Regions from separate parts of the Homo sapiens genome. Here regions 1 and 2 are each linked to region 3. The links are contacts of gene promoters, found by promoter capture Hi-C in blood cells and fetal thymus (Javierre and others, 2016). All regions are on one chromosome and are shown on one strand. The core of a region is centred on a gene start or on the middle of the fragment in contact, and the rest is flanking DNA. Distances in the headings are between cores, read along the strand shown.

Region 1 (2,700 bases), core at 52-2,551, 1.7 Mb after region 3:
TTCTCCCATATTTTTCGTCTTTGCTTTTTAAAATAGTTTAAAGTGGTCTGGCGTGGTGGCTCACGCCTATAATCTTATCACTTTGGGAGGCAGAGGCGGGCGGATCACCTGAACAGTCTGGCCAACATGGCGAAACCCCATCTGTACTAAAAATACAAAAATTAGCTGGACATGGTGGCGCGCACCTGTAGTTCCAGCTACTCAGGAGGCTGAGGCAGGAAAATCGCTTGAACCCGGGAGGCGGAGGTTGCAGTGAGCCAAGATCGCGCCACTGCACTCCAGCCTGGGCGACAGTGACTCTGCCTCAAAAAAAAAAAAAAAAAAAAAAAAAAAAGAAAAGAAAAAAGAAACCGCTGGCTTAGTAGAGCTGATGCTACCCCACTGCGTGCGCAGTTCCTATAATGTAACCAGAGAGACTGGCAGGTGACGGGGGTAGGTAGGAGACAAGCCATTTCAAGAGGAGGGAAATTAAGGGACCAGATTTGGAAGGATGGGCCAATTTTGCTGGCACTTAAGATATTAGATGCCCTGGGGCCAGAGGCCAGGATTCTGCACTTCCTTTTTATATTGGAGAGGAATAAGGAAGTCAGTTGGTTTCGATGGAACATGTGTTGTCTGAAGAAGGGTTTAATAGGCCAAGAAGCAGATGTCTACGAGGTAGCTGACATTCGAATCTGGAACTGAGAAAGGGTCTGGGGTTGGAAAAACTGCAGGACTGGTTAGTTTTCTACACACTTTAACAAGGCCTAGTCACTGCTGCTCCCTCCTCATTTTAAGAAAAGTCCTTTCTTTATTCACATTGCACAACGGAGGCTTCATTTCGCGCTTTTTTTTCCCTAGGCCCGGGGCTGGGGCAGGTCTTTTGCGCCCGTCACCTAACTACGCCCCTCAACCCTTTCCCCGCCCCCGCGCAGCCGGAAATCCGAGGTCTGGGCGGATCTTCTACTAGGCACTCTAAGGGGCAGCGATAGGACGCCGCGGCCGCCAATCAGGCCTCCCAGATACCCGGATGTGAGACGGTGCGCGATACAAAGGCGAGTTTCCACCCAGAGGGTCGTCCCGTGCAATAGCCAATAAGCATTCTCCAGGCAATAAATGACAGGAAAACTAACCAGTTATAAACTAGTTTCTCTCACGCATGTGGAAATTCGCCTGCTTAGTCTAACCCACTGCTAATTGTGATTGGATATCATTGTGAGGAGCGGTTGAACTGTCTAATTAGGAGCGGGAGCGAAAAAACGCACAGCCAATAGGAAGATTCTCAGGAATGGGGCGGGGACTAGGCCTTCGCCTCGGCGGCAGAGGAGACTCGGGGGCCATTTTGTGAAGAGACGAAGACTGAGCGGTTGTGGCCGCGTTGCCGACCTCCAGCAGCAGTCGGCTTCTCTACGCAGAACCCGGGAGTAGGAGACTCAGAATCGAATCTCTTCTCCCTCCCCTTCTTGGTAAGTGGAGAGGGCGGACGCAGGGAAGGCGCTGGGTTTTTCGGGAAGCGAGAGGGGGTGTGGGAGAGAAGATGTGGGAATCCTTCCCCCTAACTAACCGGGCCCTCATTTATTCTGCTTGTTTTGGGGGATTAGGTTGAAGCCGGGGGCAGTTTTATAGGCCTCAGCCTCTGTATAGGTTTAACCTGGTGTCCTCTAGGCCACGATCGCCAGGGAAAATGTCCTTTTTTCGCTCTTCCTGTGTTAACGGCTGCTTTCCTTTCATTTTCTACGACCGCGAGGACTACGGGATCATGAAAATGAAGATCGTGATGCTCATTAATATAGTCGAAGTTAACGTAGCGCCGATGCCTTCTATTACCTCCGTTCTTCTTACATGTAAAAAGTGGGGGAGGGGAAGGGGGAAGGTTACCAAGTAGATGTATCGCGAGCCTTTAAATCCTGGATCGTGCCGCGTGGCCTACGAGAAAGGTTTAACAAAAGATTCAGCATTTTACTGATAACTTTTTATTTTATTTCTCTCTATGAGCAAATGATGGAGCTCGAAGTAGTTATTTTCACTTACATTTGTAAAAGGAAATATTGTGATATAACTATATTAATATTTACAGCTGACTTTTCATCTGCAGGTTACAAAACACTTGAAATATATAAGTTAGTGGAACTTTGCTTGAGGTAGGTATTAACTCTCTTTCTCAGACGGAAACTGAGGCAGAAAAGTGTTGGTTGCTAGGGTCATATTAAGTCAGTAGCAGCACTAGTAAGGAATTTGACCACGAGGTCAGTCGAGTGGTTTTTACCTAGTTAATGGAATACCTAGTTAATATAGTTCTAAAACTACTGTATTGCAATCTTTGCCAAGAACCTGATGACGGAAACCACGAGGTAACTGGAAATTCCCAAATTGCGCTTAAGAAAAATACTACGAGACTTGAGAATTTTTTAACGTAACTTCCTAAGTGTAAGATGACAAAATTTGACTTTCGGGATATTCTGGCGTTAATTTTCCCGTCCGCCTAAATGTGGGCAAAAATTCACAGCTACGTTATATTAAGCAAATATTAACAGTGCCTATTATTTGCTGGGTGCTGAAATTTGATAAAAAACTTAAAAGTTAAAAAAAATTGTTTAGATCTTTAGTGTCACATTGACTTATCTGGGACATCGCTTTTTTTAATCCTCACATGAGATTTGGCTAAGTTTATTTTTCACAATCTGTTAATCTCACAAAAACTAAAGCTGTTAAGCACAGTTT
Region 2 (2,700 bases), core at 32-2,531, 1.5 Mb after region 3:
CTCTGGCAGAGCCTGTTCCTGGCCGAACTGTGGATACAGCTGGAGGGTCAGGAACTGTTACCTTCTTTCCCCTTGGCATTAATAAATTTAAGTTAATCCTTTTCCACTCTTCCTTTGTTCTATGTTTGCTCAAACCCAGTGTATTGATTTTGAGTTGTTAATGGTGGGTAATTTCAGCACCACTTTCCTTAAGTTCAATACTGTTTATACTAAATTGCCTTACAGCAGACAAGTCATCTGTACTCCTCTAAAGGGTATATACAAATGTAGACTGTCCAGCTGGCTAAAGGCAAGGGAATTATTTAAGGTAAATGGTAGGTAGGCAAACTTCTGGATTCAAACTCCAAGTTTTTAGAAGAGACAGGGAGCAAGAATGTCATCAGGAACCATTTATGTTTTGTTTCTAATTAACTGAAGTAACGGTTATTTGGGGGAAGCCATAGAATAGTGCCAGTTTTCATGAACTGCAGCAAGGGGACTGGCCGACTGGAAGGATGCTGCCGCGACTTGGGCTCAGGGGGTGGGGTTGTGGGAAGGAACTAAAAGTTTGTAGAGCCCCTCAAGTCATCTGTTTCCTCTGACTTACACCATCCCACTGCTCAGTTAAAGCTTGCGCATATTATTTTCCTTTCGAAAACTAGGTTCCTCCCCCAGCTTGGGTCGTAGTTTATCACGAGGCTGGGCTCCATTTCCCTGGTATGAGTCCTCTGTCCCGGCGGAGCGCTTGACCCAGCATCCTGGCACCGAGGATCCCTCGAGTCCTGGAGCAGTCAAGGGCTTTTGCATTCCCATCATTTCTAGGAGGGGCGCATGCCCAGTTACACTGTAGTAGTCCCACTTTTATCCCACGCTAGATCCCGCTCTTTCCGCTCCCCCTTCCTTTGCAGATGGGGTGGAGCTATAACACCCGCGCGCGGCAGCTCTTGTGGGCGGGGCAGGCGCCGCCTCCTTCGCTTCGTCTAGGGACTGCCGCCTCGGCAAAAAGTCTGAGGTCCTGGAAACCGCCGCTGGGCTGAGAGTTAATAAGGGCGGAGGCAGACCGTCACGTGACGACGTCGATTCGCGTGCGGCAGTGGCGAAGTTGACAAACCCCGCGAAAATCGACTCTTTGCATCGCACATTTTGTTGATTTTCCCTCGTTTTTCTTTCTCTCTTTCCCCCGTCCATCCGAAAGAGGGTTGGAAAAAAACAAAACAAACAAACAAACAAAAAAAAAACCTAACGCTGTTGGGACCCGGAAGCGGAAAGGGCATCTTTGAGGTCGATACTTCCGGGTCATTGGGAGAGTGCGGGATTCCTGGGCCGAGAGCGGGTGGCTGAGCCGGGACCTCGCGTGATTCTCGGAACCCGAGGAGAAGCGGCGTCCGGGGCTATGGCTGTGACTCTGGACAAAGACGCTTATTATCGGCGAGTGAAGAGACTGTACAGCAATTGGCGGGTGAGGAAGATCCTGTAATTTTTCCTAGGGAGCCCCCTTAGCCATCCCATAATAACCCTGTTTCTCGGCGCCCTTTTTTCTCTTTCGGTCAGGAATTCCCGGGTTCTGTGCCTCACCCTTTTCGTTGCTCCCGAATCATTCACCGGAGGCGGCCACGAACGCTGCCCCTTAACAGGGAATCCCCCGCATTCACCCTGTCCTGCGGCCATCACCATCTTCCCCGCGTGCCAGCCTTGGTCATGCATAGCAGCACCTCTCGCAGTCTCTTCCCGCCCTAGAAGAGGCAACATCCTTCCCTCCTACTCCGTGGTCACGTCTTGCTGCCCTCCCCTGCCGTGTTCTCACGCACTCGCTCTGTCCCTCCAGAACCACAATATTCCACCCCTGGTCCCGCCAGGATTATAACCGTCTTCGTAAAGGAGAGATGGAAGGGCAAGGAGGATGTCAATCGGGCTTTTAGCGTTTATCGTTTGCGGGGCTTTTGCTGGAGTTAAAAAAAGAAATACTGCTCACGCGCAACCGCCTCATGTTCTAGGCCCTGCTGTGGGTTACAGAGAGGGACCTAACGCTGAAAGCCTGCAGGCATTAGTAATAACAAAACAAAACAAAACGATGCCTAAAACCTTATTAGTTCCTTGGTAGCGTATCCGGGGCACGTGTTCATTAAAAGAGCTGTGGCAGTTCCCAGTTTTTTAAAGATTCGGCAGTTTTGCTGCTCTAAAAACGTCCACAGTTAAAACTTATTTTTATGATGTTAACTTACTAATTGAGCAAACATTTGGTTGCATTCTGTGATGCAGTCTGAGTTGGCTAGCTTAAGTCTTGCCCCTGAACCCTGTCATCAAGGGAAGATACAGCTAATAAAGATTTTTTTTTAACCTGAAAAACGTTTTGAGAAAAATGATCAGCTCTCATTTCAGCATTGTAAATTATCTTTCAAACTGGTCATCTACTAAAACCAAGCCATTAAAATTGGTCGTTTCCTTGCCATTCATATTAAAGCTGTCTGTGCATGTTTCATCTTTTGGGGCTAAATACATTAGATAATTGAAAATAAAATTGATTCTCTTGCATTTTATGAAAAGGAAAAATAAGAACTAAATGCTAGATGAATACTGAACATTTTATTTTTTTTAATTTTTTGATTAATTTCTACCAAATGATTTTTTGCAGCTTCTCTCAGTGTCATATTATTCAAACATAATCGATGTTAGAAAAACATTTTAAAACCTTGATACTTTCTAATGATCAGTAAGTACTAA
Region 3 (2,700 bases), core at 71-2,570:
CTGGGCAATAGAGCGAGACTCCATCTTTTTTTTTAAAAAAAAAAAAAAAGAGAACTGTTGATCTGGGCCTTATTTTACACTAGGGCTCTTTGGCCATATACCATAATATTCCAGAATCTTGGTTTGAGGGCTGTGTCTGATGGTCTGACTTTTCTCACAGTTGGAGGTGCAGTTCATCATCACAGGCACCAACCACCACTCAGAGAAGGAGTTCTGCTCCTACCTCCAATACCTGGAATACTTAAGCCAGAACCGTCCTCCACCTAATGCCTATGAACTCTTTGCCAAGGGCTATGAAGACTATCTGCAGTCCCCGCTTCAGGTGGGTCTGGAGTGCACTTAGAGGAGGAAGGTGGGATGGAAAATGTTTCTTGAGAATATATGCCTCCAAATCTTACTAAAACTCAGAAAGCAGTGGAAAGTTTTTGATATTTTAGTGCATTGTCCTTTGCCAGAAACTGGCTAACTTTGTCCTTTTCCTCATTCATCAGCCACTGATGGACAATCTGGAATCTCAGACATATGAAGTGTTTGAAAAGGACCCCATCAAATACTCTCAGTACCAGCAGGTACTGTGTGGTGCCCAGGGTGAGGAAAGCACAGGGCCAGCATGACCTGGGGAGGATGGGATTACAACCATGGGATATTCTCTCCTCCCTCCAGGCCATCTATAAATGTCTGCTAGACCGAGTACCAGAAGAGGAGAAGGATACCAATGTCCAGTGAGTGCTTTCCCCTCAATCTCAGGGACTTGCATACCTATATCTGTATATGCCAAGTCTGCTTGACTCTTCCCTTTCTTTCTTAGGGTACTGATGGTGCTGGGAGCAGGACGGGGACCCCTGGTGAACGCTTCCCTGCGGGCAGCCAAGCAGGCCGACCGGCGGATAAAGCTGTATGCTGTGGAGAAAAACCCAAATGCCGTGGTGACGTGAGTAGCAACCTGCTTGCTGGGAAGTTAGTCCTCATTGCCAAATTTCCTTAACATCTCTCCTTACCTTATTGTCTCTGTTTCAGGCTAGAGAACTGGCAGTTTGAAGAATGGGGAAGCCAAGTGACCGTAGTCTCATCAGACATGAGGGAATGGGTGGCTCCAGAGAAAGCAGACATCATTGTCAGTGAGCTTCTGGGCTCATTTGCTGACAATGAATTGTCGCCTGAGTGCCTGGATGGAGCCCAGCACTTCCTAAAAGGTGCCCCCAGGTTGGGGTGTAGGTGGAGGGTGATGATGGGTGAGACAGCAACCTGGGAGGAGGGTACAGGGTTTAGGGGAAAGTGGGTTGGACCTGGGTCACATCATATGAGTTTGAGAGCCACTGCTTCACTGCCTCTGTGCCCCTAGCAAATGAAGTCATCTCTCCAAACCTTAGTGTTCATATTTGTAAAATGAAGGGAGTGGGCTGGGCGCGGTGGCTCATGCCTGTAATTGCAGCACTTTGGGAGGCCAAGGCGGGAGGTCAGGAGTTTGAGACCAGCCTGGGCAACATGGCGAAACCCCATCACTACTAAAAATACAAAAATTAGCCAGGCGTGGCGGTGCACGCCTGTAATCCCAGCTACTCGGGAGGCTGAGGCGCGAGAATCACTTGAACCTGGGAGGAGAAGGTTGCAGTGAGCTGAGATTGTGCCACTGCACTCCAGCCTGGGCAACAGAGCGAGACTCCATCTCAAATAAATAAATAAATAAATAAATAAATAAATAAATATGACATATGTACCCTGAGCTTAGCTTTCATCAGGAACTTTTGTGGGACTTTGTGACCCCACAAAAGTTAAGAACCACCAGATTAGACTATCTTGGGTTCTTTCAGTTTTAATCTGTGTGACTCTGTAAATTAACCTAGTAGTGGAATCCTCCATGACAGTAGTTGGAAGCAGGCTGGCTTAGTAATGTGACAACATGCATTTGTCTCTTTCTTCCATGCCCATGCCAACGTTGGTTGGTTTTGACATGGGAGGTTTGATCCTTCTGATCCTTCAGTTAGTACAGACATACCATTTCCCTCCCTCTGGAACTAATTTGACTCTCCTGCTGTGCAGATGATGGTGTGAGCATCCCCGGGGAGTACACTTCCTTTCTGGCTCCCATCTCTTCCTCCAAGCTGTACAATGAGGTCCGAGCCTGTAGGGAGAAGGACCGTGACCCTGAGGTAAAGAACCACTCTCTCTGGAAAGAAGTGGTACTCTTTAGTCCTCTTCTTTTTCTGTATTTGCATCAGCTATTTTCTTCTGCTGGGGATGAAGAGGTGAAGGAGAAGTTAGGGATTGGGGAAGCACTAAAGTAAAACTTTTTTTAATCCTTGGGGAAGTAGTTCTCTCTTGTGTGTCTTCCCCAACACTCTCTCTCTCTTTCTGTCTCTGACAGGCCCAGTTTGAGATGCCTTATGTGGTACGGCTGCACAACTTCCACCAGCTCTCTGCACCCCAGCCCTGTTTCACCTTCAGCCATCCCAACAGAGGTAGGTTCTTTTATGGCTGTCCTCTGACTAGAGGGGTACGGGCTTCTTCCTTCCTCCTGCTTTCTTCCCTTACTGTCCCTAGTCTGCCTTATCTACTCTTCCTTTCCTGGGTCTTGCTCATGCTTTATCAAGTTGTCTAGAGCTTCTGGCCCCTTGTCACCCACATAATTATTTCCTGACAGATCCTATGATTGACAACAACCGCTATTGCACCTTGGAATTTCCTGTGGAGGTGAACACA

The links. The method cuts DNA at HindIII sites, captures the fragments that hold promoters and counts their contacts. A CHiCAGO score of 5 or more calls a contact.
Region 1: the fragment with the promoter of HNRNPC here is called in contact with a fragment that was not itself captured in region 3 in 1 of 17 cell types (non-activated CD4 T cells); the score reaches 6.1 in non-activated CD4 T cells.
Region 2: the fragment with the promoter of SUPT16H here is called in contact with a fragment that was not itself captured in region 3 in 1 of 17 cell types (fetal thymus); the score reaches 6.3 in fetal thymus.

The regions. Positions count from the first base shown.
Region 1 is chr14:21,268,043-21,270,742 of GRCh38, reverse strand. HNRNPC (heterogeneous nuclear ribonucleoprotein C) reads left to right here and starts at 1,301. Exons shown (of 9, transcript NM_004500.4): 1 at 1,301-1,445. RefSeq lists enhancers at 572-1,197, 1,301-1,560, 1,198-1,822 and a silencer at 1,131-1,210. The HindIII fragment of the contact is 8,584 bases long and covers 1-2,700 here.
Region 2 is chr14:21,382,600-21,385,299 of GRCh38, reverse strand. It overlaps SUPT16H (SPT16 homolog, facilitates chromatin remodeling subunit), which reads left to right and starts at 1,281. Exons shown (of 26, transcript NM_007192.4): 1 at 1,281-1,438. The coding sequence starts at 1,373. CHD8 (chromodomain helicase DNA binding protein 8) reads left to right here. Exons shown (of 38, transcript NM_001170629.2): 38 at 1-101. LOC107984643 (a long non-coding RNA gene) reads right to left here and starts at 1,027. Exons shown (of 2, transcript XR_001750627.2): 1 at 587-1,027. The HindIII fragment of the contact is 3,293 bases long and covers 612-2,700 here.
Region 3 is chr14:22,922,501-22,925,200 of GRCh38, reverse strand. PRMT5 (protein arginine methyltransferase 5) reads left to right here. Exons shown (of 17, transcript NM_006109.5): 8 at 161-322; 9 at 492-569; 10 at 664-722; 11 at 809-931; 12 at 1,018-1,193; 13 at 2,041-2,150; 14 at 2,366-2,459; 15 at 2,642-2,700. PRMT5-AS1 (PRMT5 antisense RNA 1) reads right to left here. Exons shown (of 2, transcript NR_120600.1): 2 at 1,794-2,122. It overlaps LOC124903285 (a long non-coding RNA gene), which reads right to left and starts at 900. Exons shown (of 2, transcript XR_007064073.1): 1 at 760-900. The HindIII fragment of the contact is 8,606 bases long and covers 1-2,700 here.